Regions from separate parts of the Homo sapiens genome. Here region 1 is linked to region 2. Evidence: promoter capture Hi-C in 16 types of primary human blood cells and fetal thymus (Javierre and others, 2016). All regions are on one chromosome and are shown on one strand. The core of a region is centred on a gene start or on the middle of the fragment in contact, and the rest is flanking DNA. Distances in the headings are between cores, read along the strand shown.

Region 1 (6,717 bases), core at 363-2,862, 910 kb after region 2:
TCGCTGACTTTGAGCTACTTACTGTTTTTGACGTGAAAAATCACAGCACTGAGCAAAACAGAGGGAGCCCCTTCCCTTTGTGATTCGCCCACTATGTCCTTGGCGCTGTTTTTGAGCCATTATTTACCTCATTATTTATCAATATTGTTAATGTCATTTTCATAGCAACCCATGTTTTAAAATAAGAGAAGGGTAAAAATATGTTGGGAGGATGAAGAGTGAAGGAAGAAATGTAAATGAGACACGTGCCAGGCACACGGGGACCCAGTGACCAGACTCCAAGAAAGCGCAGGACAGGGCTGGGCGCGGTGGCTCACGCCTGTAATCCCAGCACTTTGGGAGGCCGAGGCGGGCGGATCACGAGGTCAGGAGATCGAGACCATCCCGGCTAAAACGGTGAAACCCCGTCTCTACTAAAAATACAAAAAATTAGCCGGGCGTAGTGGCGGGCGCCTGTAGTCCCAGCTACTTGGGAGGCTGAGGCAGGAGAATGGCGTGAACCCGGGAGGCGGAGCTTGCAGTGAGCCGAGATTGCGCCACTGCACTCCAGCCTGGGCGACAGAGCGAGACTCCGTCTCAAAAAAAAAAAAAAAAAAGAAAAAGAAAAAAAGAAAAAAAAAAAGAAAGCGCAGGACAGAAAGAGCGAGGTGCTAAGACTTAGAGTGGACCCAGAGGCTCTGGCCCTCCTGTCTCCCACCACGCACTCCATTTTTGTCACATTTCAAACCTATCGCTTTTACGATATATGTTCAAAAATTGTTTAATGAACTGTAAATGGCTTGGTAAGGGCCGCATCGTAAATGGCTTGGTATGGGCCACATCGAGAACAGCTGTCAAATATAAGCCTAAGGCTAACCACGGATCTATTTTAACACTGAGCAGTTGTGGCTGAGTGTCTGGAGCTTGGCAGAAAGCAACGTCACAAGTCTGGCTTTTTCCCACGTAGACTGAACCCTCGCCCTCAAAGCTACAAACACAACAATTTAACCAACTGAGTGATCAACTAGGAGAAGAATCAATATGATCTCTTTCAAAAGCTTAAAATATGTCAAAATAGTATTATCTCAGAAAGTTTTTTTTTCCCAAAATAATACAAGACATTATCGAATTCTTATTTAACCCTTTTCTAAAATCACCCACCCACCTCATTGAATTTCCTTTAAAAAATCTTCATCCTGGCCGGGCGCGATGGCTCATGCCTGTAATCTCAGCACTTTGGGAGGCCAAGGCAGGCGGATCACCTGAGGTCAGGAGTTCAAGACTAGCCTGGCCAACATGGTGAAACTCCGTCTCTACTGAAAATACAAAAATTACCCAGGCATCGTGGCACACGCCTGTAATCCCAGCTACTTGGGAGGCTGAGGCAGAAGAATTGCTTAAACCTGGGAGGCGGAGGTTGCAGCGAGCCAAGATCGCGCCGCTGCACTCCAGCCTGGGCGTCAGAGCAAGACTCTGTCTCAAAAACAAACAAAACAAACAAATAAGAAAAACCTTTTCATCCTAACTCGTATATTATTTCTTCAAAAGAATAAAAAACGTGCAAATCTAATGCTTGTCTAGCTATTGCGACCACATTTACAAATGGATAGGCAGCGCTCCGGAGTTGGATGTAAGACGGTAGTATACAATCCAGGTGTGGTCGATTTAAGAAAAAAAAAAAAGAAAAAAGAAAAAAATTCCTGTCTAGCTAGTGCAACTACATTTATAAATGGATAGGCGAGGCTACGGAGTTCGATGTAAAACCGAAGTTTACAAGCGAGGTGTGGTCGGTGTAAAATAAAAACGAAAAAGAAGAAAAAAAAAAAAAACAAACCCACGGAAGTGGCCCGTACGGGGATCGAACCCGCGACCTTGGCGTTATTAGCACCACGCTCTAACCAACTGAGCTAACCGGCCTCCTTGGTGGGAGGGTCTTTTCTTATGTTTATTTAAATCATACCTGATCCATGCCCGCTGAATTTTTTTTTTTTTGTAATAGAAGCGTTACTTTCCCTTTTATTAATAAAATATATTTTTTTTTAAGAAAAGGAGAATTCCTCACTGTAGGCACAGGAAAACCATGCTGTTTCAGGGAAAACAATCTCAAACCACTGATTCTGACTGGAGAAAACTCAGATTCAACGACCCCAAGCAGGGCTTCCTTCCCCTCACCAGGTGAAGGACTCAGAACAAACCAAAAAGCAGCTCCAAGCTTGCGATCGCGGCCAGTTCCTCACGGAACCAACCGCAGAGCCGCCGCAGGTTCGCAGGATCGGAGGGTTCGGAGGACTCGGAGGGTGCGGATTCCTCTCTGCTCCTTGAGACCATTCCAGCCAGGTGGGCTCTTAGGCCTGGGAACCTGGGAAAGTGCACTGTCTCGCCTCCTGGCCTCGCGGTGGTTCCGCAGTCACCAGGACCCGAAATTCACAGCTGTGCGTCCTAAGCTTGCAGCTCCACAAACGATAAAATCAGACTTGGCCCTGCAGTGCCGGGCACCGGGCCCTTGGTGATGCTCGAGTGCCGGGCTGGCATCGGCGTAAATGAAAGGACCAGCGGGACGGCTCCTTTCAAGAGTCTCTGACTCCTTCCGTCCCGGGAAGACCAAGACACCCACATCTAAGACAAGGGAAGTCACCATTATCTACACCAATGATAAACGCCGGTATCTGGGAGGAACTGAGCCCAGGACCGGGTCAGGCAACTCAGAGTGTTGGGACAACTAAGTCCCTCTTCAAAGACTCAACTTTCTTGTCATAAGTTGCAAAAGTTGTACGTCAATCCTGCCTGCCCCCCGCCCCCCACCACACACATACACTCCTTTTTTTCGCAAATCCAGGGTTTACCCTATTTGCCAAAGTTTAAGTCTTAGCCAATCGGGATCAGCTTAGATTGTGCGGTCCAACCCCAGCCAATAGGGGAAGGACACAGAAACAGGAACTGCGTTAGGATTAAAAACTCCTTACCTCCTTTGTTTGGTGTGCTCTTGCAATTGTAACAGGCAAGGAGCACCCTTCTGCAGAAGTAAAGATGCCTTGCTGAGGAATTTTCTAAGTGAGGGTTTCTTTTGGCTACACCAAGCACTTGTTTCCAGTAAATCTTAGGGACTCGTCCGGGATCCCATTCTCCTTCGGGAGGGGCTAGCGATTATCTTTCATGGGGAGACGCGTCCCATTGCCTCGTGGTGGCCCCAGGAGCGGAGGATCGAGTCCCGCCCGAAGTGACGAATAAATCCGGACTCTCAGCAACGCGGACAGTAGGGAGGATCCTTAAGAATTCTGTGAGACCAGCTTGGTCAATACGGTGAAACTCCGTTTCTACTAAAAATACAAAAATTAACCGGGCGTGGTGGTGCGCGCCCTTAGTCCCAGCTACTTGGGAGGCTGAGGCAGGAAAATCACTTGAACCCGGGAGGCAGAAGTTGCAGTAAGCCGAGATCATGCCACTGCACTCCAGCCTAGGCAACAGAGCGAGACTCCGTCTCAAAAAAAAAAAAAAAAAGAATTCCATGGCGACCACAGGTAACTCTGTGCACAGACCAAGGTAAGAAACGTTGCTATTGGGGCGGCAAAGCCTTCCTTGGTGGTTGGGGTCTCTGGAGTTTTAAAGTGTGTGAGTGAGACATACCACTGGGCGCAAGGCGAGTGCGGAGTCCGGACTTGGTTCCGTGGTCACCTCATACGGCTTAGGGCGGTTTTCCAATCAGGGGATTCCACCTACCCGCCAATGCTAAGAGGTGCCTAAAATTCCCGCAAGGGAAGCAGCCAATAAGGACGAAGTGAGTGCTCACGAGAGTGCAAGAAACCTCCAGTGGAAAAAGGGGAGGTTGAGCCTCTAAGACACGGGAGTGCAAGAGATCTCTAATATTATATATTAAGCCTCACCAACCTCCAGGATGGGAAATAACCCCAAGTAAGACAGAGACTCTAAAAGGCCAAGCAGACAATAAAATTTCCCTCACAGTCCCCTAGGCCTAATGTTAAAATACTGGAAGGATAATGAAAGGACCAAACACAAGAAAAGACAGCAAATGATAAAGTACTGCTGTTTTATTTGGACTAAGGAACCCATCCTCAGACCTTCGGTCTTTTGGCCAAAGTTTGGGTGGGACGAGGACTGGATATGCCAACTCCTGATCCAGTATGTCAATGATAAAAGCCCAGTTTCTCAAGAGGAGATAGATTATGCTCTATGTTGGAGACAAGGACCTGTCCTTCTCTATCCCTTAAAGGACGAAAAAGCAAAGCCAAACTCAAAACCCCCCAAAGACGACCTAGCTAAGTCATATTCTATATCCAAAGATGCACGGGATCCTCTAGACCACCTTCCCCTGCCTACCTCTCCGCCCCGACTGAACAACAGCCCTTCCCGCACCTACCCCTCTGCCCCAAGCTAAAACTCCGTCCCTCCCCCATATAACCCTGCCCCATGGGCCTTGACACCACACACCCCCGTTGGACAGCCACTCGAACATGCCCCTCCCTTAGGAAAGCTCCAGTGGCAAATAGAACAATGCCAAAGGGATATTCAAAACTTTCCTTTCCTCTCTTCAAAGAAGTCTGCCCCAACCTTTTTTCCCTTGAGGGAAGTACCACTAGGAGGAGGGGATATTGGCTTCGTAAATGCCCCCCTTAGCTAGTGAAGAAGTTAGAAATCTAAAAAGGAGACTCAAACCACTGTTAGATGACCCTTTTGGAGTCTCAGATCAAATTGACCAATTTATGGGGCCACAACTGTATACCTGGGCTGAATTGATGTCTATTCTAGGTATTCTCTTCTTAGGAGAGGAAAGAACCATGATCTGCAAGGCTGCTATGATAGCCTGGGAGCGCAAGCACCCCCCTCGTCAGAATGTCCTTGCAGCAGAGCATAAATTCCCGGCCCAGGACCCTCAATGGGATAACAACAGTGCGGCTCACCGGGAAAACATGAGAGATAGGGATATGATAATTAAAGGGATTCAGGAATCAGTTCCTCCAACCCAAAACATTTCCCAAGCATTTAATGTACAGCAAGAGAAAGATGAAGGGCCCATGGAATTCTTAAACAGACTTAAGGAACAGATAAGAAAATACGCAGGTTTGGACATAGAGGACCCACTAGGACAAAGGATGTTAAAGCTCCACTTTGTCACCAATAGTTGGCCAGACACTATAAAGAAATTATAAAAGATAGAAAATTAGAAAGACTGTCCCATAGAGGAACTTTAAAGAGAGGTCCAAAAGGTATATGTACGGAGGGATGAGGAAAGGCAGAAGCAAAAGGCAAAAATTATGCTGTCCACCCTACAACAGGGAACTTTTCAACAGGCATCCCAGGGAAATAGAACTTGTAAACCTTCTGAGTACCAGGCTGCCAGACCCTATACAGGAAGCAAAGGGACGAAACCTGAGAATCAGGGAACCAGGAGGGGGAGAAGGAAAAACAGATGTTTCAGATGTGGAAAGCCAGGACATTTTAAGAGGAAATGTCCCGAATGGGAGAGGGAAAAGAAAGTCCTTTCACTCATGACATTTGAAGAACAGTGGGCTCAGGGGCTCTACGTCTTCCATCTTGAGTCCCACCAAGAGCCCTTGATAAATTTAACGGTGGGACCCAAATTGGAAATAGTCACTTTCCTGGTCAATTCGGGAGCAGCTGGCTCCTGCCTATGTTTTCTCCCATCAGATTTATCCTGTTCAGCCGAAGACCTTACTGTCTCAGGAGTTAAAGGGGAAGGATTCAGAGCAAAAATTCTAGAGGAAACCGAAGTCAAATATAAGAATAAGTCGGTTGCTACTAAGTTCTTCTTAATTCCTGAAGCAGGAACTAATTTATTAGGAAGGGACTTAATGTTAAGGTTAGGCACAGGCCTATATGTTAATCAAGGAAAACTCCTTACTTCCTTAAACGTACTCACCACTTCAGAAGAAAGCCGCATCCATCCCAACGTATGGTCGAAAGAAGGGAATCGAGGATGGGTTCCTCCAATCCATGTCAAATTAAAAACTCCTGGGGAAATAGTGAAACAAAAACAATACCCTATTCCCTTGGAAGCCAGGATAGGTTTATAACCTATAATTGAAAGCCTTGTCCACGAAAACAATACCCTATTCCCTTGGAAGCCAGGATAGGTTTAAAACCAGGATAGTTTTAAAACCTGTAATTGAAAGACTTGAACCCTGTATGTCCCCTTATAACACTCCAATATTGCCTGTAAGGAAGTCAGACGGGTCATACCAGCTAGTGCAAGACCTCTGGGCTATTTACCAAATAGTTCAGACCATCCACCCTGTTGTTCCCAATCCTTACACCATTTTCAGTAGAATCCCGCATAACCACCAATGGTTCACGGTGACAGATTTAAATGATGCCTTTTGGGCTTGCCCTTTAGCAGAGGACAGCTGGGACAAATTTGCCTTTGAGTGAGAGGACCCTCACTCCGGTCGATGGACAGTCTTGCCCCAAGGTTTACAGAGTCCCCAAATCTATTTGGTCATATTTTAGAGCAAGTCCTAGAAAACTTCTCCCTGCCTTCATCCATATGCCTACTCAAATACGTAGATGTCCTGCTCATTTCAGGAGATAACAAGGATCAAGTAACAGCAATTTCAGTTAACTTCCTAAATTTCCTAAGGGGACAAGGATTACGGGTCTCAAAGAACAACATCCAATTCATAGAATCTGAGGTAAAATATCTAGGACACCTAATCAGTAAAGGTGAACGAAAGATAGGATCCGAACGAATTGAAGGTATCCTGT
Region 2 (7,100 bases), core at 2,603-5,102:
TTCATTTCCTACTGTCCCCTGCTCATTCCCCATAGTCACCATGGTGCCTCAGGAGTCTCCCTCCTTTTCTCCCTGAACACATCCGCACAGGTTGCTTCCTCACCTTTCAGCTCTTTGCTGAAATATTATCTTCTTAGTGGGGTCTTCATTGGTTGCCTTATCTAAATTTCAGCTTCCCATGACACTCCTTAGTCTTGCTCTATTTTTTTTTCCTTCTCACCATCTAACATATTACATAAACATATCTAGTTTATTTTCTGTCTATTCCAGACTCAAATGTAAATTCCATGAAAGCAAAAATTTTGTGTTTTGTTCTCTGGGTGTATTTCCAATGCACAGACCAGCATCTGGTACATTGTAAATTCTCAACCAGTGTTGTTTGCAGTAAATAAAAATCAATGTTGAAGAAATATGTCAACCAAAATGGATCATATTAAATTTTTAAAAAAGAAATACTATTTGTTATAAAAGTAATGATGGCATCATAATTTATTTTTGTTTTTATTTTTGAGATGGAGTCTCGCTCTGTCACCAGGCTGGAGTGTAGTGGCATGATCTTGGCTCACTACAACCTCCGCCTCCCAGGTTCAAGAGATTTTCCTACCTCAGCCTCCCCAGTAGCTGGGATTACAGGCGTGCACCACCAGGCCCGGTCCAGCTAATTTTTATATTTTTAGTAGAGATGGGGTTTCACCAAGTTGGCCAGGTTTGTCAAGAATTAACCTCATGTGATCCTCCCACATCGGCCTCCCAAAGTGCTGGGATTACAGGAGTGAGCCAAGGCACCTGGTCCATAATAAGGTGTTAAATAGCAGATAACATATATAAAATAGATGAAATGATATTGAAATTGTCATTGCAACATTGTAACTGAGACAAAGAGATCTGACCTAACCAACTCCATCTTGCTTCTAACCTTCAAGCTGTCCTTGTTCACTCCTGGGTGTAGGCTGAACTACCTTTGGGAGGAACTTAGTTTATAGTTTAAAACTAATATGATAACAGCCCTTTCCCAAAACAAACCTCCTTGCCTGGGGACTAGACTGCCTTTGTAGGACTAACAAATTACTCACAAGATTAGAAATTATGGTTTAGGGGTAGGTCGTAATGGCTCACGCCTGTAATCCCAACATTTTGGGAGGCGAAAGCGGGTGGATCACTTGAGGTCCAGAGTTCGAGACCAGCCTGGCCAATATGAGGAAACCTCGTCTCTACTAAAACTACAAAAATTGGCTGGGCATGGTGGCGCGCGCCTGTAATCCCAGCTGCTTGGGAGGCTGAACAGGAGAATCGCTCGAACCTGGGAGGCAGAGTTTACAGTCTCCATCCTGGGCAACGCAGTGAGACTGTCTCAAAGAAAAAAAAAAACACACACATTATGGTTTAGGAGTCCTGCAGCTGGAACCTACAAGATTCTGACCCCACGTAAACTGCTCCTAAGATCAGTGCTTGAGATATTTTGCAGACCTGATGGATCAGTTGGCCCCACCCAGATTGGTAAACTGACTCATCCGATCTTGTGGCCTCCACCCAGAAACTGACTCAGCCCAAGGAGACACCTTCAGCTCCCTATAATGACATCTCTGACCTGACCAATCAGGACTCCTGGTTCATCGGCTTCCCCCCCATCTGGAATGCTGGGGAGACTGATTTGAGTAACAATAAAACTACGGTCTCCCGCACAGCTGGCTCGGCGTGAATTACTTTCTCTATTGCAATTCCCTGCCTAGATAAATCAGCTTTGTCTAGGCAGTGGGCAAGGTGAACCCATTAGGCAGTTTCATTATTTGCTTTACAAAAATCAATAGATAAAACACTTAGCCAATGTTGTTATTGAAGCTGGATGAGAGGAACATAGGTTTTATTAAACTATTATCTCCTTTCCCATATATTCTGGAATGTCAAATAAGTTTTTAAAATAAAAGCAATATGTGAAAAAAAATGACAAGTTGCTAAATTAATAAAGATCATAAAGAAGGATCTGCTGAATACCCAAACAGGGCCTTGTGCTAATCTGTAAAGGAAGGGTTCTATATGAAAACATATCTTGGTTGTATGCCAAGCAGCCCAGGATGGTATGTGTTCCTCCTTGTAACATCCCTAAAAACCTGATACTTCCAATCACTAAAAGGACCTCGGTGGTTCAAAAAAACAAAAAACAAAACAAAACAAAAAAGAAAAAACTTACATTAGTGTTGCCCTAAGAAATTCTTATAAAAGCCAGGTGTTGAAAGATAGTCAAGCAAGCCAGAAAGTCTTTAGAGACCAGTATATTCTCTCTGAAGGCAAACTACAAGGAAACTGATTCAATTAGAAAACTGCTAAGCCTAGAGTCAAACCAGAGCTAATAAGAGTATTAAAATTTATGTAGCAAGGAGTCTCAGCCCCAGCTGTTAGAAGCACCTGAATTTTAATAATTACCATTCCCTGGGCCCACTCTAGATTGCTATTAGTCTCATTGAACCCCAGGTAAAGATTTTTCTAAAGCCTTCCCATGTGACTGTAATGTTACATTGAGAAAACTGATCTGTAAAGAAATCAAACTATTTTAGGGGATTGTTCTGTGCACTTGCTTTAGAGAACATTTCATAGAATATTTCATTCTGTAACATAAATAAACATGCATTTTGCAAAAGCTCACTCCTTGTAAGAGTTCACAGGCAGGATGCCTTTACTGATGAGACCAAAACCAACAACCTAGGCTTCCTAAATCAGTGTTCATGAGAATCATCTGAGGTATATGCAGATTGACTCCAGCCCTAGATGGGGATTGAAACAAGCTCCCATGTAATGCCCTGGGAGCTTCTAACAAGTTCCCACGTAATGCCCATGCTGCCAGTAATGTAGAGGCCAATCTGGCTTTCGTTTCTGCCGCCAATTTCTAATATTGAATTAAAAAATGGATCATTTCACAGAAAAACCAAGAACTGTTTAAAAAAAGGGGGAATTGTGGAAATAGCTGCTTCAGACACGAAAAAGCAGCAACCAAGGATATCCCTACCTACTCTCAACTGCCAATGCTCATACCTGTAAAGTTTTAAAAGGGATTAACCAGAAATACACAACGAAAAAAAATCCCATCTATAATGGGTGTAAGTAGACAACGCGACTAACGCTTGAGACAATGTATATAAACGCCCCCAGGTGGCCCCTTCCACTACCAAATCGAAGCTCCAAACCCCTAAAAGCCAGTTTAGAAAAGGACGCTGACAATCTGGCACTTTCGGGAAAAAGCACGGGAACAAATATAGCAAGCTTACCATTAACTTTAGCCAATCAAATGAGGACTTAAGTACTAAAACCAATGTTTAGTTTCAAAGATTTGATTAGTTAATCACAGCTATTTTCGGGTGAAAGTAGGCGGCTCTTAAAAGAGCCTTTTTAAGTTGGATAGAATTACTGCCCGGAAACCTCTACGCTCTCTCCCCACGAATGCGGCGAGCGAGCTGAATGTCCTTGGGCATGATAGTCACTCGCTTAGCATGGATGGCACACAGGTTGGTATCCTCAAAGAGCCCCACCAAGTAGGCCTCGCAGGCCTCCTGCAGGGCCATCACCGCGGAACTCTGAAAGCGCAGATCTGTCTTGAAGTCCTGAGCGATTTCTCGCACCAGGCGTTGGAAAGGCAACTTGCGGATCAGCAGCTCAGTCGACTTCTGATAGCGGCGAATCTCGCGCAGAGCCACGGTGCCGGGACGGTAGCGATGAGGTTTCTTCACGCCGCCGGTGGCCGGCGCGCTTTTCCGAGCCGCCTTAGTGGCCAGCTGCTTGCGCGGCGCTTTGCCACCGGTGGACTTGCGTGCAGTCTGCTTGGTGCGGGCCATCTCAGACTACCTGAAAGAAAAACTCAGCCACTTGGCAGAGTGGAAACTGCCCTTATATATACTCAGAAACATTCTAATTGGCCTTGTTGATTTTCAAAAGACCCGCGCAACAAAACCATTGGCTGAAGAGTCCAACGATGTGATTGGTGAATTACTGGAAAATCTGATTGGATGAATCACTTCATTTTTGAATCCTCTCTTCTCGGTTAGTCTGCGATCCAAGAACGTTAACTTCTTAAAGTTCTAATTCTGCGCTTCTCAAGCTGTAGTCCGTAAACGACTACTTTAAGACTTGGAAGACGCTAATTCTCATTCAGTAGATGTGTTGTGGGGCCAGATTCGGAGGACCACGTTTTGAGAAGTTTATCTTGTGCCGTTTTCTTGAGTCACCTGGACTGCTGCTAGCTGGAAACCTTTGACCATTATAAGGCAGGATTCCTGGGTGATGTACCTGGGAAATCACGAGCCAAGAAGTCACCGACATACAACAGTGAGCAACAAATGTTAACTGAATTCTATTTTGTCCCAAATGGTGTTTTGCTTCGGTTGAGAATTTTTAAGGCACAGGCTAATTTTAGGTTTTCCAACGACTCTTATCATTTACTTTTCGTTGGGTCCTATTGATGATATTCCAGGATACCACCCCCACTAGCCTCTTCTGCAGGATAACTTGAACACTGCAGTGGCCCTGTCCATCTAAACTTTACAAGGTTTTGTAAACGTTACTGAACTTGCTTCTTCCCGACTACATTAAAGCACTTACTTGAGATATTAAACATTTTCTCATTAGTCCTGTTTGCCTAGTCAGTCACTTGTATAGACAGGGCAACAGCACGGCCTGAATATTGGGCAGGACACCGCCCTGCGCGATAGTAACTTTGCCCAACAGCTTGTTGAGCTTCTCGTCGTGGATGGCGAGCTGCAGGCGTCGGGGGGTGACGCGGGTCTTCTTGTCTCGGGCCGCGTTGCCCGCCAACTCCAGGATCTTGGCGGTCAGGTACTCCAGCACCGCCTCCAGGTACACCGGCGCACCGGCCCGGACCCGCTTGGCGTAGTTGCCCTTGCGGAGGAGGCGGTGCACTCGGCCCACAGAAAACTGGAGACCAGCCCTGGAAGAGTGCGTTTTAGCCTTGGCGCGAGCTTTGCTGCCCTGCATTCCACATCCAGACGCAGTGAAGTATTTAAATACTTGTTTAGAAGAAGGAAAGTGATTGATTCTAGTAAAACGCAAGAGCTAAACTCTTATAATCTATATTCGGCAAAGTAGACTGTGCTATCTCCTGAACACAGATTTCAGCCAATCGAAAAGCAGGTGTTTAAAAAAATTTAAAAAAAAAAAAAAAAAAAAAACCACTTCTGACTTACATACTTATAGTTGAAAGGTCAAATTATGCAAGGTTGAGCTTCTGGGAGAGCCGATGAGATTTAGGAGTTCAGAAATGGCCTATCATATATTCAGACACTAAAAGAACCAATGAGAAACCGAAACTCAGCCAGCCTCATTTGCATATACACGAGGTAAATAATGAGGGCGTTTGGGCTCACCAGCATTTTCCTGTGGTCATTTGACGGTATCACTTCGGCTGCGAACATGCCTGAACCAGCTAAGTCAGCTCCCGCCCCGAAGAAGGGCTCCAAGAAGGCGGTGACCAAGGCACAGAAGAAGGATGGCAAGAAGCGCAAGCGCAGCCGCAAGGAGAGCTATTCCGTGTACGTGTACAAGGTGCTGAAGCAGGTCCACCCCGACACCGGCATCTCGTCCAAGGCTATGGGGATTATGAACTCCTTCGTCAACGACATTTTCGAGCGCATTGCAGGCGAGGCTTCCCGCCTGGCGCATTATAACAAGCGCTCGACCATCACTTCCAGGGAGATCCAAACGGCTGTGCGCCTGCTGCTACCCGGGGAGCTGGCCAAACACGCGGTGTCGGAGGGCACCAAGGCGGTCACCAAGTACACCAGCTCCAAGTAAACTAGTTACCTGGGTAAAAGCGCTAACGACCCAAAGGCTCTTCTAAGAGCCACCCATGTTGTCATTTAAAGATCTGTAATTTTCCAGACTTGGCATTGGCAAGGTAAAATGGCTAAGCAACACATGGGATAGTAAGGGTTTACTGAAACATCCAAGTTCGGCCGGGCGCAGTGGCTCACGCCTGTAATCCCAGCACTTTGGGAGGCCGAGGCGGTCGCGTCACCTGAGGTCAGGAGTTCGAGACCAGCCTCGCCAACATGGTGAAACCCTGTCTCTACTAAAATATACAAAAATTAGCCGGGAGTGGTGGCAGGCAACTTAATCCCAGCTACTTGGGAGGCAGAGGTAGGAGAATCGTTTGAACCCAGGAGGCGGAGGTTGCAGTGAGCCCAGATAGAGCCATTGCACTCAAACCTGGGGTATAAGAGCGAGACATCTCAAAAAAAAATCCAGGTTCGTTGTTTTTTCCCCTATAGATTGTAAGCGTCACCAAGGAGTAAGCTCGTATGCAGCTTAATATGACACATTTCACTCAGCAGCTAAGGAAAAATCGTGTTCTAGATTGATCCCCACTTTTCTTCTCCCCGCACACCACCATCTTAAAATTTTGTTTTCGTTTTTAGTTTCACTTTATCATCCTATTGCCCTTGATTTGGAGTAGCCGGGTGGAAATCAAGTTTGGGGTAGTCTTAAATCTAAAATAAGGTCTGAGAAAGCGAAACTCGTCTTTTAGTTCGTTGTTAGCTTGCAAATGGTTGGAGCGGCATATGATGGAGGAAATCACCTCTGTTGGTTGCATTTCTAAACCATGGCAGATCGCTACCAGACGTTCTCATATCCCCCTTGCAAGTCCACTGATTTCTCTACAAATTTTACTGAGTTTATAATTACTGGATTACTTCACGTAGCTATACATATTACCTCTTGGCAAGATCAGGAACTCTACCATCTTCTTAGCTGAACATATTGAGGTTTAAGACAAAGAACAGGCAACAGGATAGCCTGAAGTTGGAGCAAAGAAATGAAAATTCCCGGTGCTACATTCAGACGCTTTTATCTGTAAGCCTTTTTAAGGCTCCAAGGACTGTGTTCTCCCTAAACCTCCTCCTCCGTGTCCTGGAACGACTTTGTCCACAGCTACTCCCTTTCTTGAAAATTCATTTTAAGAGAGGAGGGTTACAAGGAATTAACATTTGTGTGGTAGTCCTTAGAATGCATTATTTCATTCATTGATTTTTTTTTTCCTACAGTCAGCTGTGAAATGGAAGCTCCTCTTTTACAGGTGAATGACCTCAAGAATTAAG

The links. Contacts are between HindIII fragments. The CHiCAGO score rates a contact against its expected background, and 5 or more counts as called.
Region 1: a fragment that was not itself captured here is called in contact with the fragment with the promoter of H3C8 in region 2 in 1 of 17 cell types (naive CD8 T cells); the score reaches 5.0 in naive CD8 T cells.

The regions. Positions count from the first base shown.
Region 1 is chr6:27,175,393-27,182,109 of GRCh38, forward strand. TRI-AAT5-2 (tRNA-Ile (anticodon AAT) 5-2) reads right to left here and starts at 1,896; the gene lies at 1,823-1,896. RefSeq lists a cis regulatory region at 1,735-2,812, a silencer at 1,802-1,951 and enhancers at 2,154-2,353, 2,544-2,643, 2,994-3,053. The HindIII fragment of the contact is 1,154 bases long and covers 1,036-2,189 here.
Region 2 is chr6:26,267,561-26,274,660 of GRCh38, forward strand. It overlaps H3C8 (H3 clustered histone 8), which reads right to left and starts at 3,853. Exons shown (of 1, transcript NM_003534.3): 1 at 3,358-3,853. The coding sequence starts at 3,824. The coding sequence ends at 3,414. H2BC10 (H2B clustered histone 10) reads left to right here and starts at 5,371. Exons shown (of 1, transcript NM_003525.3): 1 at 5,371-5,852. The coding sequence starts at 5,416. The coding sequence ends at 5,796. It also overlaps the pseudogene H2AC10P. RefSeq lists enhancers at 1,385-1,981, 2,755-2,894, 4,622-4,961, 5,292-5,631, 5,702-5,831 and 2 more. The HindIII fragment of the contact is 12,049 bases long and covers 3,254-7,100 here.